Regions from separate parts of the Homo sapiens genome. Here region 1 is linked to region 2. The links are contacts of gene promoters, found by promoter capture Hi-C in human tissues and cell types (Jung and others, 2019). All regions are on one chromosome and are shown on one strand. The core of a region is centred on a gene start or on the middle of the fragment in contact, and the rest is flanking DNA. Distances in the headings are between cores, read along the strand shown.

Region 1 (6,119 bases), core at 3,090-5,589, 1.5 Mb before region 2:
TTGAGGAAAAAACTACAAAATAAATTGGGCAGTAAACATAATCTGAATAACAAAATAAAAAATGAAAGCAAGATTAACCTATCACATCCTAAACTATCATAGTAGTAACATAGCTATTTTGAAATGACAAAAACAAAATCTAAAATATAACTTGCATGATTTGAGGGCCTAAAGTAAAATGGCAAAGTAAAAACGTATATACCAGAGAAAGACAAGACTATAAACATTTATGTAGCATAAATTTGTATAAGCCCAAAAATTCTTAATGAAACCCTCTGAGATATGTTTCAGAATTCACAATTTTCAGATTTTAGAAGAGTAAAACGTTGCATATACTATTTATTAAGTTAAACCTCCCAGTGGCTTCTGGAACAGTATTTCACAATCACAGAAACATTTTGTGCAATGAAATGTAAGCAGATTCACATCAAATGGGATAAGTCAAGACTATAAATAACTTTTGCCACCAAACTTAAGAAGAAACTTTCAGTTTTCAGAACTTTTTGTATTTGAGAATTCTGAGGATTTTGGATGATAAATTGGCTTTCTCCTCCAAAGGCAAATTGGTCTTTATAAGGGTTTGCAATTTTCCTTTTCCTCCAAAGGCAAACTAGTCCCTATAATGGTTTGCAATTTTCCTTTTTAAGTTCAGAAATACCTCCCAAACAAAAACAAATCCCACTTAATAATTAGTTTCTTTTCTTTGAGACAAGGTCTTGCTCTATCGCCCAGGGTGGAGTGCAGGGGCAGTCATGGTTCACTGCAGCCTCAACCACCTGGGTCCAAGCAATCTTCCTGCCTTGGCCTCCCAAAGTGCTGGGATTACAGGCGTGAGCCACTGCTCCCAGCCTAAGGAAATTTTAAAATCATTTTGCCAAAATACTTTATGGCTGAGTAACTTTTCCCCTTAAACATTCACAAGAGCTACGATAAAATGTTAAAAAAAAAAAAAAAAAAAGCTTAGTTATAAAATTTCTGTTGCAAGGGAGGGGAAGATTAAGAAGATATGCCAAACTGAAATGTTTCCAGCAACAACCTCTTCCCAATTGCATGGAGTATCTTAATCACAGGCCATGCCTTGTATTGTTTGCAAGTGTTTTAGCTTCTCTTCTATTAAACTGACATTTTACTAACAAAATCATTTTTCTGAAAGGCCTTGCACATTGTCTTAAACACAACAGTCATACAATAGGTCACTCTGAGTTTTTTGTTTCTGTTTTTGTGGCAGGGTCTTACTCTATTGCCCAGGCTGGAGTGCAGTGGCACAATCTCAGCTCAGTGCAACCTCTGCATCCTGGGTTCAAGTGACTCTCCTGCCTCAGCCTCCTGAGTAGCTAAGGTTACACGTGCCCAACACCATGCCCAGCTAGTTTTTGTATTTTTAGTAGAGATGGGGTTTCACCATGTTGGCCATGCTGGTCTCGAACTCCTGACCTCAAGTGATCCACCCGCCTCCACCTCCCAAAGTGCTGGGTTTACAAGAGTGAGCCATCCCACCTGGCCCAATAGGTCACTTTGAAAAATTACTACAAAGATAATTCACATTCATTATAATAAACCTAGAATATGCCAAAGGTATATTTTTCAAATATCTTACATTAATTATCTAAAGATGAACAGAATAAACAATTCCGGCACACTCCTTCAGGCAGGTGTGCCTACAAACACAAGACTGTCAAAGGTAATTTAACTGGGTTCTTAATGAATTACCTTTCTATTCTACCAGTAAAAAGAAAATAGTCCTGCTTAACTCTCAGCACCGTTGTGAGAATCAAATAAAGCAATGTAGAAGTTTTCCGAAAACTGAAAAGTATATAAAATAATCTAGAAACTGACCAGCAGAGAGATGAATAAAAATGATGCTAAATTTCAAGCTTTAGTTTAGATTAGTTAGTTCTTAACTTCAGGTGTATGTAAGAATCACCTGGGGAGCTTTTAGAAAATACATACTGATGCCTGGGCCCCCAACATAACAACCCAAACCAACTCTATGGGGAGTGAAAGCCTGCTATCTGTATTTTTTAAAATTCAAATGACTAACGCAGAGTGCAGATCATGAGCCACTAAGACAAGTGAATCTATTTACAGAAGCTGTTGAGAAGAATATAGACGGAAGGTTATTGTTTTTTGATTCTCCAGACTACAGAAATATTTAAGTTCTATCTACCTTCAACAAAACACCATGTATGGTGTGAATCTATTTTAGTTGTTGAAAAGGGGGGAAAAAACCTTTAAACATAAACCTCCTGTAAGTACTTGCACATACACCTACACAACTTAGATCAACATGTGTTGTAATATGAAATGTGCTTTATGTGGTTGATTACTATATTAGATTAACTTTTAGAAAGCTTTACAGAGTAAACATGTACTTAATTATAAACATGTATATATATCATATGTAAAATGCTACATATGATAAATTCAGGGTGGTGGGATTACGGGTAATCTTCACTTTTTTGTACTTTTCTGGATTACCTTTTTTTTTTTTTTTCTTTGAGTCAGGGTCTTGTTCTGTCACCCAGGCTGGAGTGCAGCAGCACCATTTCGGCTCACTGCAACCTCCTCCTCCCAAGTTCAAGTGATTCTCCTGCCTGAGCCTCCAGAGTAGCTGGGATTACAGAACATGCTACCACACCTGGCTAATTTTTGTATTTTTAGTAGAGAGGGGGTTTCACCATGTTGGCCAGGCTAGTCTCGAACTCCTGACCTTGTGATCCACCCACCTCGGCCTCCCAAAGTGCTGAGATTATAGGTGTGAGCCACCGCGCCTGGCCAAATGTATGTTTTAATGGCTGCGATAAAAGGGCTAATTTTGTGAAATGAAAATGACATATACAACCTCTGAGGTTGGACAGTATTCCAGCAAGGTTCAGAGGCTTTTCAACACAGCATCAATGTGGTAAAGAATAAAAGGATGATGCAATGATTCATGTGTTCTAAAAGTAAGTATATTTTACATATCAATGTGTAAGGAGAAGCCATTATGCTCTTGAGAGAGGCACCTTTAAAAAAAAGATAAAAACTATTAATCCCTGATATACCTGCTTCTTACAAAGAAATATGCAATTAAAATAGGCACCAAAAGAGATATTTCTTTTTTTTGTTTGTTTTCTGTTTTTTGAGACCAAGTTTCTAAAGATGAACAGATTATCTAAAGATGATGATCTTGTTGCCCAAGCTGGAGTGCAATGGCGCAATCTCAGCTCACTGCAACCTCTGCCTCCCAGGTTCAAGAGATTCTCCTGCCTCGGCCTCCCAAGTAGCGAGGATTACAGATGCGAAACACCATGCCCAGCTAATTTTTTGTATTTTTAGTAAAAACGGGGTTTCACCATGTTAGCCAGTCTGGTCTCAAACTCCTGACATCAGGTGATCCGCCCACCTCAGCTTCCCAAAGTACTGGGATTACAGGCGTGAGCCATGCGCCTGGCCCAAAAGAGGTATTTCTAAAAGCAGTTAAGAAAGCCCCAAAAAGGCCCTCAGTATTCATTCAACAAATATTTTTTGAGCACTTATTACGTGCCATGCTCTACACCAGGCATTACAGAGACAGAGGTAAATGAAAAACTATGTCCTGGCCTTCAGAGCTTTCAGCCTTTCAGGTACCTAAGAAATATCTATAACAATTATACGCCCAAAGTCCTCCTCAATGCCACAGTTCTGATTAAAGTGTTACTTAACATCTGAACATACTACAGCTGGAGGAAAAAAGCTAATTACAGTACACTATGATACTGTGTTATATGAAATGTGCTTTATATGGCTGATTACTACATTTAATTGATACCAGTTTTAGAAAGCTTTACAGAGTAAACATGTACTTAATTATAAATATGTAGTCTGTGGTATTTTCCACAAAAAATTATACATTAGATGTTTGGCCAAACCTATAACCTCAAAATATATTTGTTTCTATAGAAGAAAAATCAGATTGTACACATCATTTTTAGTCTTTTTAAAGCTGCCAGGTATTGCAAATTAGTTTTAATGTCGGTAAGTATTGCATTACATATAGTTCTAAATACTGTACTGATTAACCACATCACTTTTGCTGAAGTTAATTGGTGACTTTAAAGGTTGAAATTTTAAAAGAAAAGGATATGCCAGCATCAGGTAAACCAAAAGTCTTTAAATCTATAATCTCTAAAACAACCTAATGAGAAGTTAGCTCTACCTGTTTAACTACTTTTTAAACACACACCCAATTAATATAACCGTAAACTTCAATGGGTGAAGCTTTCTCCTAAGTTACTTATTTAAAAGTTCATAACAAAGAGAGTGTGAAGACTCAGGAAAGCCATTCTAAGATACAAACATCTACTCTATTAACTACATGTAAAGGAATTTTATAAATATGTTGATATAAATGTCAGAGCCCACTATAACATTATCAACATTGTTTGTGCTTGTAATAGCTGCATTTAAAAAATATTCTAGGAGAAACTTAAAAATGTAGGTTCCTTTCCCTCTAACCTCTCTAAATAGAATCATTTTAACATACATTTTTAAAAGAAAGTTACCCTATAGTTATTTTATAAAAGAATAAGCTCAATGTTTCACCAAAGTATTTTTTCCATACCTATGAAGCTTCTCGTCATTTAACTTTTATTCACTACCTTAATATTGTCATAAGAATCATTTCTTTTCCTGACCAGCTATTATATATTATGTCTCGCTGATGTCTACATAATTACCTCTACGTAATCCCCTTCTTGGCACTTTTCGTTTTCTAATAATTTGTGCTGAAGAAAAACGATACTGATTTCCTATGAGCTTACCTGTTGCTTCCTTAAACATCATTTTAGTTAAACAGAAAGCATTTTCTTCTCATTTTTGTCTATATAATTATTAAATTTCAGAACTAAAAGAGCCTTACAGGGGACCTAGTAAAATTTCCAGTTTTACAAAAGAGAAAACAGGCGCACTGAAGGAAAAGTGGCATAACCAAGATGAAATTATTTTCAATGTAGATACCAGTAAGTAAAACAAGATCTGGCAAAAAGAATTGAATGTAGTAATTCAGCAACTTGATTGAAAAACTGATTATCAGCCAGGTGCGGTGGCTCACTTTGGGAGGCCGAGGCGGGAGGATTACCTGAGGTTGGGAGTTCAAGACAAGCCTGACCAACTGGAGAAACCCGTCTCTACTAAAAATACAAAATTAGTTTGGAGTGGTGGCGCATGCCTGTAATCTCAGCTACTCGGGAGGCTGAGGCAGGAGAATCGCTTGAAACCGGGAGGCGGAGGTTGCAGTGAGCCGAGATCACACCATTGCACTCTAGCCTGGGTGACAAGAGCGAAACTCCATCTCAAAAAAAAGAAAAGAAAAGAAAAACGGACATCACATTAAAACAATATTTAATATATCCTTGGTTTTCAAATCTGTTCATTATTGATATTTTAATAAGTTTCCCTATACAAATTTGGTTTCTAAAAGTTATTATTTAAACATCTTAATTCTTTTTTAAAATAGAGATAGGGTCTCACTATGTTGCTCAGGCTGGTCTTGAACTACTGGACTCAAGCGATCCTCCCACCTTGGCCTTTTGGGATTATAGGCATGAGCCACTGCACCCGGCCTAAAATAATCTTATCACTTTGTAAAATGGCAGAGAAAACATCTCTGCCATTTTAGAACTCTGCCATTTTAGAAGGCTAGAACTGAGTTGGTATGACGCATTTAAGCAAAACTGGCTCTAAAGATGATCAGTAGCGCTTGGAATTTGAGACAAGAGCATTCTTTAATAAGTAAACTGGGTTCAAAATCTCTCATATTAAAAATAATAAAAATAAAATAATTGAATCAATAAGCATCTTTATTGTAAATTAATTCAAACTGTTTGGAGTTGGAGATTTACATTATATTCTTTGTAATTCACAAGATTTTCATAACAATGATAGCCGGATTTCAAGAAGACTAGAGCTTTTTGTCATGCATCTCTTAGAATGAGGCCTGCTACAAACAAATGATTGAATGTTACAACTTCTTTTTTTTTTGAGATGGGGTCTCATGCTGGACTGCAGTGGAGTGACCTTAGCTCACTGCAACCTCCACCTCCTGGGTTCAAGCGATTCTCCTGTCTCAGCCTCCCCAGCCTCCCGAGTAGCTGGGACTA
Region 2 (5,766 bases), core at 487-2,986:
TCGGTTGCTGAGGCTCTTAGGACCACCAACCATTCCTAACTTAATGAATATCGATTCAATCTGCTAGTCTCTAGCTGGATGCAGGTCCGCCGAAATGGGAAGGAGGAAGGAATGCAGCGTAACTGGACCGGCCTGGATGGCTGTTGTAATGCGTCACGGAAGAGCCAGAAGAGCGTCTCTAAGGAGGTGGAAGGTGGAAAAAAGAAAGTGGAACAGGGGCAAAGACATAATTTTCCAATTAAAATAATTTACTCAGTGTCAACCTTAAAGCTAAAAAAAGTTCCAGAAAAATATTTCAGTGATTTAGTCTTCCTACACACACATTGCCCCTCACTACCCTCCACCTCCCCACCACCAATCCCATAATCAGGCAGTGCATGTTAAAAAGGTCTTTCAGGGCTAGCCTGGGAACGTCAGCACCTTCTGCAACACTGTTTCAGTGGGAAAGTGCATTCTGCATTCCAAGTCACCAAGTTCCAGACAGGCACAGTAGCACACACGTGTGAACAGAATCCATCAGTACAGTCTGGGGCCCAGGCCTTTGCACACCAACAACTTAAGGTTCTTGGTAATGGCCCAGCGTGCACCCATGAGGCCACTGCTCTTTTACACACGCACTCAGAACACCCACAGCTTTAAAACGGCAATCTTACTACAAAAATGACACTTTGCATTTGCACAGCACTTTGTTTTTTGTGTACTTTACACATTTATTACCTAATGACTGTGTTTTTTGAAATCTCCAATAACTCTGGGTGGTGGTAAGAATAGGCATCCTTAAGCCACCTTCCCAGATGAGGAAACTTATCTGTGTTCCCCTCCTTCTTCTCAACAGCCGGCTGATGGAACCCAAGCCCTCCACACCAGCAGTGGGGCCAGCTGCACAGAGCGGCCAGAAGGGAGAGGCCCCGGGGCCACGCCCTTCTCTCTACTCTCAGTTCCTGACTCATTGTCACATCATGGCGAGTAACAGGACAACCCTCCCCACAGAATCATGGGGGACACTACCTTCCTGAGGCCAATGTGTTCAACCAAGCGGGAAACTCTCCGGGTAGAGTGAAATCCGAAGTTGCTATGCTACAAGATAACCTAGAGCAAGGGGAATAACTGACGTTTTAATGTCTTCTTTTATGGGGGGCTGAGGGGTGCCTACTCACACTCCCCCCTCTCGTCTTCCCCCGCTACTTCCCTCCTGCTGGTCGGTTCAACTCCACAAGCGCGCGTTTGTTTCGAGTACAGTAACTTAGAGCAGATGGGGGGCACTTTCTAGAGGGCAGTGGAAAGCCCACTTGCTACTGCTGCGCCGGGGACCTGCGGCTCCCTGGGCGGCCACGCCCTGCCTCGGCGGCGCCTGGCGCGTCTGGAATGCGGGGCCTCCCTCCGCCCCTCTCCCCACGCCGCCTCGCCCCGCTCCCGCTAGGGCTTCTTAGAGAAGCCCGACCCCCCACCACCTCTGCCCTGCACCCTCCCGGCCCGAGGGCCGGTGGCCCCTCACCCCTGCCCCAAACACCTTGTCCCTGAGCCCCCTCCCCAAAGACTCTCCAGTGCCGGCCGTCCCTTCAGCCCCCTGCCCCCGACGGCCTCCGGGGCCAGTTGCCGGGGCCTCCCTGCCAGGCCGTACCCTTCTTCCCAGCGTCTCCACACCCCGCTAGCTGGCGGCCCATCGCGGGCGGGCAGGGCGCGCCCCGCTTACCTGGGCCGTGCGCCGAGAGCTGAGAGCGTCCCCAAATGCTGAGCAGAGCCGGCTGGCCTGGGTGGGGCTTTTATACCCGCCACATCCTCCCTAGGCGAGGCGAGGCCCGCCCCGCCCCGCCCCGCCTCCCCCTTACACGGCCCGCTCCCACCCCAAGTCAGGGGTGACTCACCCCGGCCCGCCGGCCCGCAGGGACCGCGCCCTGGAACGCTCCCGAGCCGCGCCACGCGGGAGCGGCCCCAGCGCCCCTGGCCCTGCCCTCCGAGAAAGCCCGGCCGAGGCTGCCCCGAGGCCCACAGGGACCCCGTTTCTTCCTCCTTTCCTCATTTTACTTCTTAAGTGCCACGTCGAGCTCTCAGCCTCGGCTTGGGTTAATAAATTAACAAGACTTTAGTAGTAGACTCTGGGCTTGATTAAGTGTTTTTTTTTTTTTTTTTTTTTTTTTGGCGTTAATGCAATGGAGGAAAGAATTGTTCCAAGAAACATAAATCTGGACTCCCCTGAGCTGGGGCTGTTGGCATCCAGCGCCCCATTACCGTCTGCAAACATGTCAGCTTAACCTCTGGCCGCCAGTTCCCGGGGGGCGCCCGGGGAGGGAGGGAGATTCGCCCTGTGCTGCAAAGCCTGGCCCGCCCCGGCCTCCGAGGGCCAGGAAGCCCCGAGCCTGGGCTGGGAGGCCAAAGCCGGGAGCCAGGATCCCACCTCAGTCCCGCCCAGGGTGGCGCCCCTGTCCCTAGCACGGCTGTGCTCCGCTTCTCTCCGCGCCTGGGGCATCTCTGCGCGGCCTCGTAGCAGGCAGTCCTGAGCGGGGTGGGGCCCATAGCTTTGAACCCGGAGTTTCGTGTGTGTGTGTGTGTGTGTGTGTGTGTGTGTGTGTGTGTGTGTGTGTGTGTTTCGAACCCGGAGTTTCAACAAAGAACTTTCCTCTCCTTCTTTCATGACTGCTGGGGTGTGTGTGTGCGTGTGTGGTGTGTGTGTGTGTGTGTGTGTGTTTCTTGCAGCCGTTTAGCCAACTCCCTTGCTCGGTGTTGCTGTTACTCGCTTTTCTTCCGAGAGAGAGAGAGAGAGAGAGAGAGAGAGAGTTTCTTGCAGCACAGAGAGAGAGAGAGAGAGTGAGATAGAGAGTTTCTTGCAGCCAGTTAGCCAACTCCCTTGCTCGGTTTTGCTGTTTCTCACTTTTCTTCCGTGTGTGTGTGTGTGTGTGTGTGTTTCTTGCAGCCGTTTAGCCAACTCTCTTGCTCGGTTTTGCTGTTTCTCGCTTTTCTTCCGTGTGTGTGTGTGTGTGTGTGTGTGTGTGTGTGTTTCTTGCAGCCGTTTAGCCAACTCCCTTGCTCGGTTTTGCTGCTTCTCGCTTTTCTTCCAAGAGTCACGTTGGCAACGTGCAGGCAGACACCTATTTGTTGTATGTGAGACGACGCAAATACTGTATTCGAACCTCAAACTAACAGGAAAGCGACGCTGAGAATCCCGAGGATCTCTGGCTGCGTTTTTTAAACCCCTCCTTGCACACTACTTCCTGCAGCTCTTTTTCCTGGTTTTGATGATTCTGTGTTTCAATCTCCCATTTATCTTAACATCCATTTTTACTTTCCATTTGAGCGTCAATTCACTCCTGGGAATCAGAGAATGATAGCAAGGCCAACAGACATTCAGTGCTCTGCCCACTCGCATAGAGTGACACAGGCAAAGTCGGCCACAGCTGAGGTCTTTTAACCCGCCCAAAGCTTTCTGTTACCCAGCGCTTTCACGAGGAATTATACGCGATGGGCCCTACCACAGAGCCAAATAGAAAATCAAGCAACACTTTGGGTACAATTGCTGATTTACATTTATAGCTCTTCAATTTAGCCTGAAAGCTTCAAAGTCAGAAACAATGTTTATCTGCTTACTTTGTGTGAACATTTTGGAAGGTTAGGGGAACACAGGCAGACAGTAATATTGGGCACGATTCAGCCTCCCTTCTGTGTATCTCAAGATAGGTTCCACAGTCTCTTACTCCTAATCGTGCTGTGATAGGCCCTTTACAGAAGATAAAATTTAATTCAAATCATGTGGAATATATAAAAGCCATCAAATGTCCAAAAGAGTTTTGTGCTCATCTTGGGCATGCCACAAATTCTAACTTCTATAGATTTGTACAATCACCAGTCTTTGCATCATGCTAAAGAAATGTGCACTGATGTTATCATAAAAATGAAGCTATTAGAAGTCATAGTTTGCTATTTCTGAGGAATGTGAGGCCAGTTCTTCCAGTATAAAAGATCTTTTATTAGTCAGAAGACTCTATTTTCCCCCCTGGTTGAGGAGAATGTTTACATCAGCCCTCAGATTGTCTGCTGTTGTCCATATTGCTCTCTAAGTGCTTGACTTTGTTTTGTTCACACTTCATCTGCTGCACTCAACACCTACTAGCGCCTAGCTAGCAATGATAGGCACTCACTAAATGTGATAGAATGATAAAATACAATTATTCACTGAATAATAGAATGTTAAAGCAGGGAGGGACCCTAGAGATTAAATTGCCCTATCCTTGATTTTTACTATTATTATTCTTATATCTTTTAGTTGAGATCTCACACTGTCACCCAGGCTGGAACGCATGGCATGATTAGGGCTCACCGCAGCCTTGACTGCGGAGGCTCAAGAAATCCTCTCCTCTCAGCCTCTTGAGTAGCTGGGACCACAGGCCCACGCCACCAAGCCTGGCTAATTTTTCTATTATTTGTAGAGACGACAAAGTCTTGCTATGCTGCTCAGGCTGGTCCCGAACTTCTGGGCTCAAGTGATCTGCCTACCTTAGCCTCCCAAAGTTCTAGGATTACAGGCGTGAATTACTATACCCGGCTCTTGATTTTTACATATGAAGAAATTGGAGTCCAAATAAAATCTCCTGCCCAGTCCAGGGATTAAATAATGCACCCAAGGCCCTCGTATCAGTTACCTTTGCAGTATAACAAATTATCCCCATAAACTTAGTGGTTAAACATAACCATTTACTTGCTTGTAATTCTGCAATTTAAGCAGGACACCCAGTGGGGACAGCTTGGTGCTCCTCCACAGCATGTTGGGTTGGGTAGCTTAGTTGGGGTTGGAAGATTGAAAGCAGCTTCATTCGTCTGGCGCCTGAGCTGGGATTGCTAGAATGACAAAGAGCAGGCTGGGCCTTTCTCTTCCTTGGTCTTACATCCTCCAGGTTCTCCTCTTTTGCTACACCACGGTAGTCATGGCAGCCAGCCTTCTAGAAGCAAAAGCTGAAGCTGCCAGGCCTCTTGGCTCACAGGCTGTGCAAAAACAAGCAATAGGCTGGATTTGCCCTATGGGCTGTAGTTTGCTGATCCTTGTTTTAATCCATTGCCCTACTCAAGTTTTTGGTTTTGCCCTCTGATATCTAGGCTCCTCCCTTTAAGATGTATTTCCTTTTCTTAAGAATGGCCCAGGCCAGGCATGGTGGCTCACGCCTGTAATCCCAGCACTTTGGGAGGCTGAGGAGGGCAGGTCATGAGGTCAGGAGATCAAGACCAGCCTGACCAACATGGTGAAACCTCATTTCTACTAAAAATACAAAAAATTAAGCTGGGCGTGGTGGCGGGCGCCTGTAGTCCCAGCTACTCGGGAGGCTGAGCAGCAGGAGAATGGCTTGAACCCAGGAGGGGGAGGTTGCAGTGAGCTGAGATCGCACCACTGCACTCCAGCATGGGTGACAGAGCGAGACTCCGTCTCAAGAAAAAAAAAAAAAAAAAGAATGGCCCATATTTGTAGCTGAGCAGTTCTCTCAGTCTGCTTCATTCATGCCAGGAGAAACTGAAAGGTCTAGAAACTTCTTTTCATTTTGCACTTTTTCTGGTTTAAGCTGGCAGTTGTTTCATTAATACAAGTATCTTAAAAACCATGTAGATTTTCCATATCTTATTAAGGTTCACACCATGCTCCAAGATTTATATACAATTTTCTCAAAAACTTTATTTATATAAATCTTGCTGAGGTTTAATTCCATGTTCCAAGATTCACATTCATTTTTTTTTTTTTAAATAGATCTCTCTCTACTTTACATGTCAGGCTGCAGTGGGACAATG

The links. The method cuts DNA at HindIII sites, captures the fragments that hold promoters and counts their contacts. A contact is called where the count stands out against the background at its distance.
Region 1: a contact is called between a fragment that was not itself captured here and the fragment with the promoter of ANXA2 in region 2, in 1 of the 25 tissues and cell types used here (aorta).

Annotation. Positions count from the first base shown.
Region 1 is chr15:58,924,135-58,930,253 of GRCh38, forward strand. The region is part of intron 2 of SLTM (SAFB like transcription modulator); the gene reads right to left. Among named protein-coding and RNA genes, the nearest start is that of SLTM, 6.5 kb to the right of the region's middle. RefSeq lists an enhancer at 3,248-3,747. The HindIII fragment of the contact is 5,846 bases long and covers 1,417-6,119 here.
Region 2 is chr15:60,396,250-60,402,015 of GRCh38, forward strand. It overlaps ANXA2 (annexin A2), which reads right to left and starts at 1,737. Exons shown (of 13, transcript NM_004039.3): 1 at 1,694-1,737. RefSeq lists enhancers at 83-674, 675-1,266, 760-809, 870-919, 940-1,129 and silencers at 1,290-1,429, 1,500-2,039, 2,160-2,469. The HindIII fragment of the contact is 12,062 bases long and covers 788-5,766 here.